Linked DNA regions of Homo sapiens: region 1 is linked to region 2. Evidence: promoter capture Hi-C in 16 types of primary human blood cells and fetal thymus (Javierre and others, 2016). All regions are on one chromosome and are shown on one strand. Each heading gives the region's core, a stretch centred on a gene start or on the middle of the fragment in contact. The rest is flanking DNA. Distances are from core to core; before and after follow the strand shown.

The links. Contacts are between HindIII fragments. The CHiCAGO score rates a contact against its expected background, and 5 or more counts as called.
Region 1: a fragment that was not itself captured here is called in contact with the fragment with the promoter of SLC41A1 in region 2 in 1 of 17 cell types (naive B cells); the score reaches 5.1 in naive B cells.

Annotation. Positions count from the first base shown.
Region 1 is chr1:206,013,906-206,018,564 of GRCh38, forward strand. It overlaps CTSE (cathepsin E), which reads right to left. Exons shown (of 9, transcript NM_001910.4): 5 at 2,026-2,225. Among named protein-coding and RNA genes, the nearest start is that of CTSE, 7.7 kb to the right of the region's middle. The HindIII fragment of the contact is 2,766 bases long and covers 1-2,659 here.
Region 2 is chr1:205,810,573-205,815,298 of GRCh38, forward strand. SLC41A1 (solute carrier family 41 member 1) reads right to left here and starts at 2,626. Exons shown (of 11, transcript NM_173854.6): 1 at 2,236-2,626; 2 at 1-515. RefSeq lists silencers at 2,357-2,616, 2,757-2,986 and an enhancer at 2,420-2,920. The HindIII fragment of the contact is 5,321 bases long and covers 1-3,731 here.

The sequences.
Region 1 (4,659 bases), core at 27-2,526, 200 kb after region 2:
GAAAGACAAACTGTCCAGGAAGGGCCACTGCAAAACTCTAGGGGTGAGCCTCAGCTAGGACCCTTTGCTTCTTGGTCTCATGCCAAGCACACAGGTAGGCAGAAACATCAGTCTGGGCTTTGAGACCGGGACTCTGACTACTGCAAGTGAATTGGTCTGGGCCTTTTTGACACAAGGTTAGAAACAACTCCCCTTGACCATTTGTGAATGTGTTTCTGCTTCTTGGATAAAAAGGTTAAGGAGGTGGGAAATGGGGCCAGCAGGTCTGTCATTCAGAACCAAGGCCAGGACCATCCTGGGTGGGTATACACTGTGTGGCTTGAAGCAACCCCCAAAGACACCTTTTCCCAAAGTATCTTCCCCACTATGGTTGTGACAGTGCCTGGCGTTTTTGTGTTATTCACTCCTTATGTTAAGGCAAAGAGGCTAATATGAATGTATCATGACTTACTAGAGCCTGAAAACTTATTTTCATTGGTATTGATTTCTCAGATTATGTTCTGGAACCTAGCAGGACTCTGGAGAAATAGGACCTAAGACAGATTCATTTTGAGGAGGAAAAGGATCAGAAAGATACAAAACTGAAATCAGGGTGGTAAAGAGGGAGAGGAGTGAATACCTGTAGGAATTTTAGGACAGTGGTTTTACAGAGGGAGTGGGGAAAGGAACTCACATTTGTTGATTACCTTGGTGCAAGGCCGTGTAGTGGGGATTTTATCTGTCTAAACTTATTTAACTCACATCAACCTAGTGGTCCGTGGAAGAAACTGAGCCTCAGTGAGATGAAGCAATGTAAGTGGCAGGATTCAAATCCAGGCCAGTCTGACTGCCAAGCCTTGATATTCTCCATTACAGCCCACTTTTCCCAGGCGACGGGAGAAGGAAGTTCTGCAAGGGGAAGCAGAGGTGTCTAGACAACTTGCCTCTCTTACTCACAGCTCTTCCTAGGCCTGGTCCTGAGTGCTGTCATGCTGGAGAGGAAACATAGCTTGATAGGGAAAATCCAGGACCCTCCATGTGGGAGAGGGGAATGAGAGGAATGGGCTTATGCTGAAACAGTGTGAACGCAGGCCAGGTCTGAGCTGGAAAAAGTCAGCAAGGTCAGAAATCACCTTCCTGTGTAAGGAGGAAGAGGAGATGACCCTCCAAGGATGCCGGGCAAGAGTGCCTAGAAACAGGTGAGCCTCATGACCTTTTCCAAAAACAATGTGCAATTTTAAAAATTGTTGTAAAAATATGTCACATAAAATGTACTATCTTACCCATTTTTGAGTCTACAATTCAGTAGTGTTAAGTATGTTCACACTGTTGTAAAATCCAGACCTTTCATTTTACAGAACTGGAACTTTATACCCATTAGGCCATCAACAACGGTTTAAGAATTCCTCACTTCCCCTCCCCAGGCTCTGGCAACTGGCAGTCTACTTTCTGCCTATGAATTTGACTAGTCTAGGTACCTCACCTAAGTGGAATCATACAGTATTTGTCTTTTTGTGACTAGCTTATTTCACTTAGCATTATGTCCTCAAGTTTCTTCTATGTTGTAGCATGTCTCAGAATTTTCTTCCTTTTTAAGGCTGAATAATATTTGATTATTTGGATATGCCACATTTTGTTTATTCATCCATCAGCATGCAATTATTTTATTGTCAGCTTTTCATTTTTTTCTGCCTCCTCCTCCTGCAGGTACTGTCTTTCTTGTTTCACTGGGTCCCCAGTGTGAGCATCATAATCAGCATATAATAGGAGCTTGATATTTAGTGACAGCATCAATGAAGAACCAATCCCAGAGATTCCTTAAATTTAAGCCAGTGTGGTAGAGTTTACAAAGTGTTTTTACAGCTACTTGATGAAGCAAATCCCATTTCCTCAATATTCAGAGAGGTTAAATGTTTTGACTAAGATCACACAGCTGGTAATGGACCAAGCTACCTAAACCAGGTCTTTTGACTGCTAAGTCAAGTGTATGTGTTGTCTCCCTGTAGTTATAACTGACTTTAACCTCACAGACTTGATGGGCCTTACCTGCTCATGTAGACAGAAAACATCGGCAAGTCCACCAGGTTCTGAGCCATCATGTTGTCAAATACTGGAGTCACTCCTCCCACAGCCAAGGAGGGGTATCCCAGGCCCAGAATTCCATCAAACTCTGCATCCACAAAGGTCTGGCCTGGCTCTGTGACACTTTCTCCAAACTGCTGGCCAACCACGGTTAGTCCTTCCACCTGGTAGGAGAAAGCCCACAGGAGAACAGGAGAATGGCACAGGGGATTGCTGGCAAAGGGTTTGACTCCTGGATTTTCCTCTGTCTTGAAGCTAATGCCTCTCCTTCCCAACTTTCCTTGACTAAATGAGCACAAAGATGCTTGCTATATTCCCAAAAAACAGGACATTCCAAACCTCAGAAGCCCTCATGCACCTGCCAATCATTGCGCCCCTCCTCAAGAAGAGCCAGTCTCCTGACTTCTAATAACATATATTGGTTTTGCCTATTTTTTGGATTTTATATAAATGGAATCATCCCATATGAACTCTTTGGTATCTGGCTTCTGTCACTCATCATGTGCTTATTGTACACTGTTTTTTTGTAACTTGTTTCAGAAAATTTTGCCTACCTTAAGGTCATGAAAACATTTTCTCATGTTTTCTTCTAAAAGCTTTATTGTTTACTTTTCACATTGCGATCTGGAACCTATATGAAATGTGATAATGTGTAAGGTAGGAATTAAGATTTATTTTTTTCTATCTGGATATTCATATGACCTGGCACTATTTAATAAATATACCATCATTTCCTCCACATACTGCAGTATCTTGTTCAACGCAAGTCAGATGACTGTGTTGATAGTTTTGTATTTTCTGTTCTGTTACATTTGTTTATTTTTTAAATTCTGTGCCAACACCACACGTCTACATTACTGTAACTTTATAATAAATCTTAATATTTACCAGTGTTTTTCTTCAGCAAGATTGTATTGGTGTATTACATATCCATATAAATGTTAGAATCAGTTTGCTAATGTCTAAGAAAAAATGCTGTTGTTTTGATTGGAATAAAATTGGTTGTATAGACCAATTTGAAAAAATTTGACTTTTTAATGAAACAGAGTCATTCAATCTATGAGCATGGTTTAGTTTTCAATACAGGTCTTCTTTTAATTTTATTCATTAATGTTTGTGATTTTTATGCAAGTCTTTTACTTTTATTTAGTAATGTTTGCTATTATCAGAGTAGAGTTCTCGCACATTTTTTGTTAAATTTACATCAAAGTAGCTGATGGTTTTGATAGTATTATAAATAGTGTCATTAAAAATCTATTTGCCATTTGTTTTACTTGCTACAGGTTGAGCATCACAAATCTGAAAATCTGAAACTGAAGTGCTTCAAAATCCAAAACTTTTTGAGTGCCAACATGAGGCTCAAAGAAAATGCTCATTGGAGCATTACAGATTATGGATTTTCAGATTTGGGATACTAAACTGGTAAGTATAATGCAAATATTTCAAAATCTGAAAAAATTTGAAATCTAAAAGGCTTCCGGTCCCAAGCATTTGGGATAAGGATCCATAACCTGTATATATAAATCCAAATGATTTTTTTTGAGACAGAGTCTCACTCTGTCACTCAGGCTGGAGTGCCATGGCATGATCTTGGCTCACTGCAACCTCCACCTCCTGGGTTCAAGCAGTTCTTCTGCCTCAGCCTCCTGAGTAGCTGGGACTACAGGCGTGTGCCACCACGCCTGGCTAATTTTTGTATTTTTAGTAGAGAAATGTTGGTCAGGCTGGTCTCAAACTCCTGACCTCATGATCCACCTGCCTCGGCCTCCCAAAGTGCTGGGATTACAGGCGTGAGCCACTGTGCCTGGCCCCAGATGATTTTTTTTATGTTGACCTCATATCCAGCAACTTCGCTAAGTTCACATATTAATCCCAATATCCTTTCTGTAGATATTTTTGGATTTTCTACTTATGGAATCTTGTCATACATTAATATTGACAGAGTTATTTCTTCCTTTTCCATCTTAATGTTCTTTATTTCTTTTTTCTTGCCTTGTTGCACTGGCTAGGATTTTCAGTACAATGTTGAATAGAAGTGGTGAGATTGAGTGTCCTTGTCTCATTCTTGATCTTATGGAGAAGTCTCTCGACAATTCACCATTAAGTATAAAGTTTGCTGTGGGCTTCTTTTAGATGAAGTCCTTCATTTTTATCAGATTAAGGGAGTTACTTTCTACTCCTAGTTTGCTAAGAGTTTTTCTTGAAGTCATGAATAGATATTGAATGTTATTAACCTACTAATATAATCATATTGGTCATATGATTTTTCTCCTTTTATTCTGTTAAATGATAAATTCCTGGAAAGATGACCCTTGGTATGATCTTTTTATATACCAAAAGATTTTATTTGCTAGTATTTCATTTAGAACTTTTGCATCTATATTCATGAGAGAAGAGATTGGTCTGTAATTTTATATTTTCTTTTGTTATAATGTCCTTTTCAAGTTTCATTATTAAAGTTATGCTGGTTTCATAAAATGAGTTATAAAGTGTTTTTACTTTGTCAAATATCTGGAAGAGTTTGTGAAAGACTGATTTTTTTTAGTGTTGAGAGAATTTATCAGTGAGGCTTTTCTTCGTGGAGTTTTCTTTGTGGAA
Region 2 (4,726 bases), core at 1,376-3,875:
CTCTCCACTCCTACCAGGCACTGCAAAAACTGATCCACCAACAGGCAGCCCCATCAAGCACTGAAGCCGCAAGCTGGGAAGAAACAAGAAATTCCTCACCAGACAGCCACTAGGGGTGCAGATGCCTGACTCCAACCCACCAGCTCTGTGCTTGAAGAAAAAGTATCTGTCCTCTTATCTTCTTTGGTTCTCAGTGGCAGGCTCCTCAGAGCAGGGGGCATCCAGAGTAGAAGAGCTCAACCAAATTCTGGGGTGCCCTCTGAAGTGGCCCCTCTTCCGTAAAAAGCAGCTTGAGTTCAAATCTTTCAGAACACAGTGCCAGCCTGGGGCTGCGGCTCCTTCCCGCTCCTTTGGCTGGGCTCTGTCAGCTTCCCACAGCTCCTCAGGCTCTGCTGGTCCCAGCGCAGCGTCTGCCGTCTTTCCCTTCTCTTCCAGAAACTTCCTCCCTTCCTGGGAAGAGCTAATACCTCTTCAAATCCCTGGTCCTTAAAGTCACGAGAATCAGTGTGGAACACCTTATGTGGGAAGGAGAAAGAAAAGAAAAAGAACATTACACTATAGCAAAGGACAGCTTGTACTGGGAGAATTTCCCCCCAAGGAAGTTAGGAGTTCATCATATAGCTATAGAGTTTGCTATTTGCCTCCCTTTTTCCGCAAAAATTACTCAGTCCTGCACTGCTCCATCTGGAGGCTCAGCAGGAGCTATCCCCGCCATCCTCCCCACCAGCAACCCTCCTGAGGGATCACCACCGTGGTCACCAGCAATGAGATGTGACCAGCCTGGGATTGGGAAGATGCTGTGCAGAAGCCCTCTGCACTGTTTCCTCAGCAACTGGGGGTGGGTAGGTGTGTCCTCAGCAAGACCCCTTCTTGAATGCCCATTAAGAACCCTGCATTATTTAAGTGGGGTTCAGTTACAAATTCAGTCACAAACTCCCTGCCACACAGCCACCCCTGTATAAAGTGACTGCTTATCATCACAAGACAGCAACAGAAAGACAGCCACACAGGGCAAAGAAATAGGGAGAAACTGATTGCTGAGTGAAGTCCCCCAGACCCCAGATCGTTCTAGCTTCTGAGAAAACAAAACAAAGCTAGGAGGACTCCCTGGGCAGTGGGGCAAGCCTGCCAGACCAAGGCCAAGAGCCAGAGGCCTACCCACTCCTGCCCTTGAGAGTCAACAGTGTTACAAAGAGCTCAGACAGCTGACTCGGATCCAGGCCTCTGTCTCTCCCCGTCTCCCCCTGCTCTTGGCCCTGTGAGCTTGTCAGATAGGACAAGGGAGTTATCTCAGTTAGAAGGGACAGAGCATAAAACGATTGCTTATTACCCACGCATTTCAGTTAATTAGGCTCCTCCTGTTCCCCAGGGTTACTGAGAGTTGGATATAGTGGAATTCTTAGAAACAAAAACAAAAAAACAAAAGTAGCAATAAAAAAAACCCAAAACAAAAACCAAAGCACCGTAAGCCAATATGCACTTGCTCCAAATGCATCTCTTTAGCTGTAATGGCTCCACTTCTCTGCCTAAAGGAATCCCCAGGCTTCCTAATTCCTGATGGACTCCCATCCTATTCCATTTCACCAGAAGAGCTCTTATTCGTAAAAAATAAATTTAAAGAGAGTTCCACCAGGTAAGAGGAACAGGTCCTTAAGTATTCCAAACACACACAATTAGTCAAGTTCAGTTTAGGAAAGGAGGTATCAAACCCCAGGAACTGGCCCAGGAGAACTGTTTCCTCTATCAATTCAGTCACCCACCAGGACTCCCTTTTCCAATCTCCTTAAACACAGTACTGTGGTTCTTTCAAACTCCCTCACCAGAGATCCAGGAGGAAACCTCTGAGTCCAGTGCCCCTATGCCAGAAAAGTTTCTGAGTCCGCTAAAAGCTGACACCCCCGCCTCCCTCCTGTGTTCCTGGCAGGCCACTGAACCTGAGAGGGGGCTCCCAGGAGGGGAAGCCAGTCCTCCCTCACCACTCCCCCTGTAAAGAGACTTCAGACAGGCCTAAGGCCCTGGGACGAAAGAAGCAAAAGTGAACCAGGACGCCCTATCCCCTCCTCCCAGGCGGGGACAAAAAAGACCCATTTTAGTATCCCCAACCCCGAGGAGGGAGAGAAAGTAACTGGGTGGCCTCCTCAGTCTCTCCACCACTCAGATTCAGCAAATGCGCTGCGCGCCAGGACTGCCGCCCTCCACCACCCCCTCCCCGCCCCAGGACCCCACAGGACTGACCTGCCCCTCGCCTGGGAGGAAGGGGGGCGCCTGGCAAGTGGCAGCGTGGCCCGTGGTCTCGGGGGGTGCAGGGCACCCCCTCTTCTCATCACTCCTCCTCGACAGTCCTCCTTGGCCCCCGGCGTGCCCCCCCACACCCCCAGCCAAGGCGAGCGTCCAGCCGCGACACCCGGCTCGCTACATTTCGCTTCTGCGTTACAGCGAGGCCGCCGCTCCGCTTCCACGCGGGGGAGGTGGCCGGGGAGGGCAGGATATATCGCTTCGGGCCCGGCGGGGGGGCACCCGGACGGGGGACCGGGGAGCCGAGCTCACGCGCCCCCAATCGCTTCTTGCCCGCGGACTCGGGCCCAACTGGTTGGCTGCCGGTGGCAAACGTGATCTGGGGCAGACTGGGTGGCACCCCCCCCGCTCCATCAAAAATAGATTCTCGGATGGACAACAGCAGCAGCCAATCAGGGACTGGGGAGGGGGCGGGATCAACCTCGGCCCGGCCCCCTTCCTTCGCTTCGTGCCCAGGAGGCGGGGCGCCGGGGAAACGCAGTAGGAGGAGTGACGGGAACCGGGAGCCGGCTCCATGCGCCTGGAGCGCGCGGGTCCCAGCGCCCATCGGCCCGGGGTCCGAGGGGCCCGCTGCCCGGGCTCGCTGCGTGGTGCTACCGCCCCCGGGCCCGCTGCGCCGCGTCGGAGCCCCAGCAGACTTTGAGAGGCGTGTGCGACAGTGCGCGTCCTCTCCTGCCTCTGGATGTTTCCTTGGAGCCTCTGGCCTTCGGGAAGACCGGTAAACGTCCCTGTGGAGCCAGCCAGCCAGCCACCTCTGACCCCCGGGCTCAAGCAGCCAGCCGCGTGCTCCCTCCTCCCACTTGGTACCCGGACAGAACAGTCCCTACCTTGCTCTTCTCCCGCCGGCTCGTCACTTTAGGCTCCCTCCAGATTCCGCGTTCCTTGAGCAAATGGCTCACCCCTGACGAATCCGGCCTTAAAAAAGTCCCGGCCTTGAAAGGGGTGGAGACTGGCGGGCGGGAGCGAAAGGAGGTCAGACCCATGGCTGGGGTCGCACACGCATCACCTGAGGTCGGAGAGGAGGGGAGCCTCACTTCCTCTGACCCACTGAGCCTGGTGGCAGCGTGCGGAGAGATGTCACCATCCCGGACTAAATGAAATCCAACTTTCCCTGACGCACCTTGTGGGATCAAAGAGGGGTGTTCCCATGCTCACCTTTCGCCACTTCCTCCCTGGGGTATCTCCACCTCTCCAACACAAGCTCAATGCCAGTTCTCTTTGGGATGTTTTTGTGCAGGGGGTGTGACCTCCCTCATAAAGGAACCCCCACTCCCAAGTTTTCCCCTCTTGTCAGTGGAACCTGTGACCAACGGTTCCTTCCTGTCCTTTTCCTCCCTGAAAGTAGCCCGGGGGCATTCGAACATGGCTCTAGACCCCTGAATAGGGTTTGGAGCGGAGATGTGCCTGGGGAGAAGAGATCGCAGTGCTGTGTATGAAGCTTTGGGCACGTGCTCACAAGAGCACACACAGCAACCTGAGCAGGTCATTCCTTTTGATAAGGATGACAAATACACATACCAAACCCTGTTCCCCTCACCCACCCCAAACCAGTACCCCCAGGATGATTCCAGATCAGCTCTGGAGCATTTGCATCAAGGGCCTGCAGACTCACAGGACCTACTAGAGCAAAATATCAGTGTCTCAGACCCCAGTTTTGGCCTCAAATACTGGGTTTTTCTGCCAGGAGAAGTAGCTGCTAGTCTAGGAAATGCTGGGACTTGTCCAGAAAGATGAGGTTTGTGAATACGGGGTGTGGGGTTGGGTGGGGAATTAAGGCTGATGTATCTGGAGGAACTTTGGTTGGGCTGGAGGCAACTTCTGCCCTGTTCTATTCAACAGTTCCCTCCCCTCCACTACCCCATTTAATCTGGCCACAGCTCAGCTACCTGTGTATAAAATCTTGATCTCTCTCCTATTTCCTTTCTACCTTCCGTGTTTTTACTTACTCGAAAACTGTTCCCCTCTCCTGTGTGTATTTTTTTAATTGAAATATACCAGGCATTTAGGAAAGGAACACGAAACCTAAGTGTACAGGTCAACAAATGATGACACAGTGAACACCCCCATATGACCACCATCCAGATCTAGAACGAGATCATTATTGGCATCCCAGATACCCTCCTTCTATCCGCTCCTGGTGACTATGCCACACTCCTTCTCAAAAGTAACGTTTATCTAACACTACAGGTTAGTTTTGCTTACTTCTGAACTTTATATACATGGAACCATTCAGTAGGTATTATTTTGTGTCTGGCTTCTCTCACTCAATACTATGTTTATGAAACTCATCCAAAACATTGTGGTAGCAGTAGCTTATTTGTTTTCATTGCCGTACGGTATGCCATTAAATAAATATACCACAATTTATCTGTTATTCTGTTGACGGACATTTTGGTTGTTCCTACTTTGGGGTTATTATGAATAAGGCTGC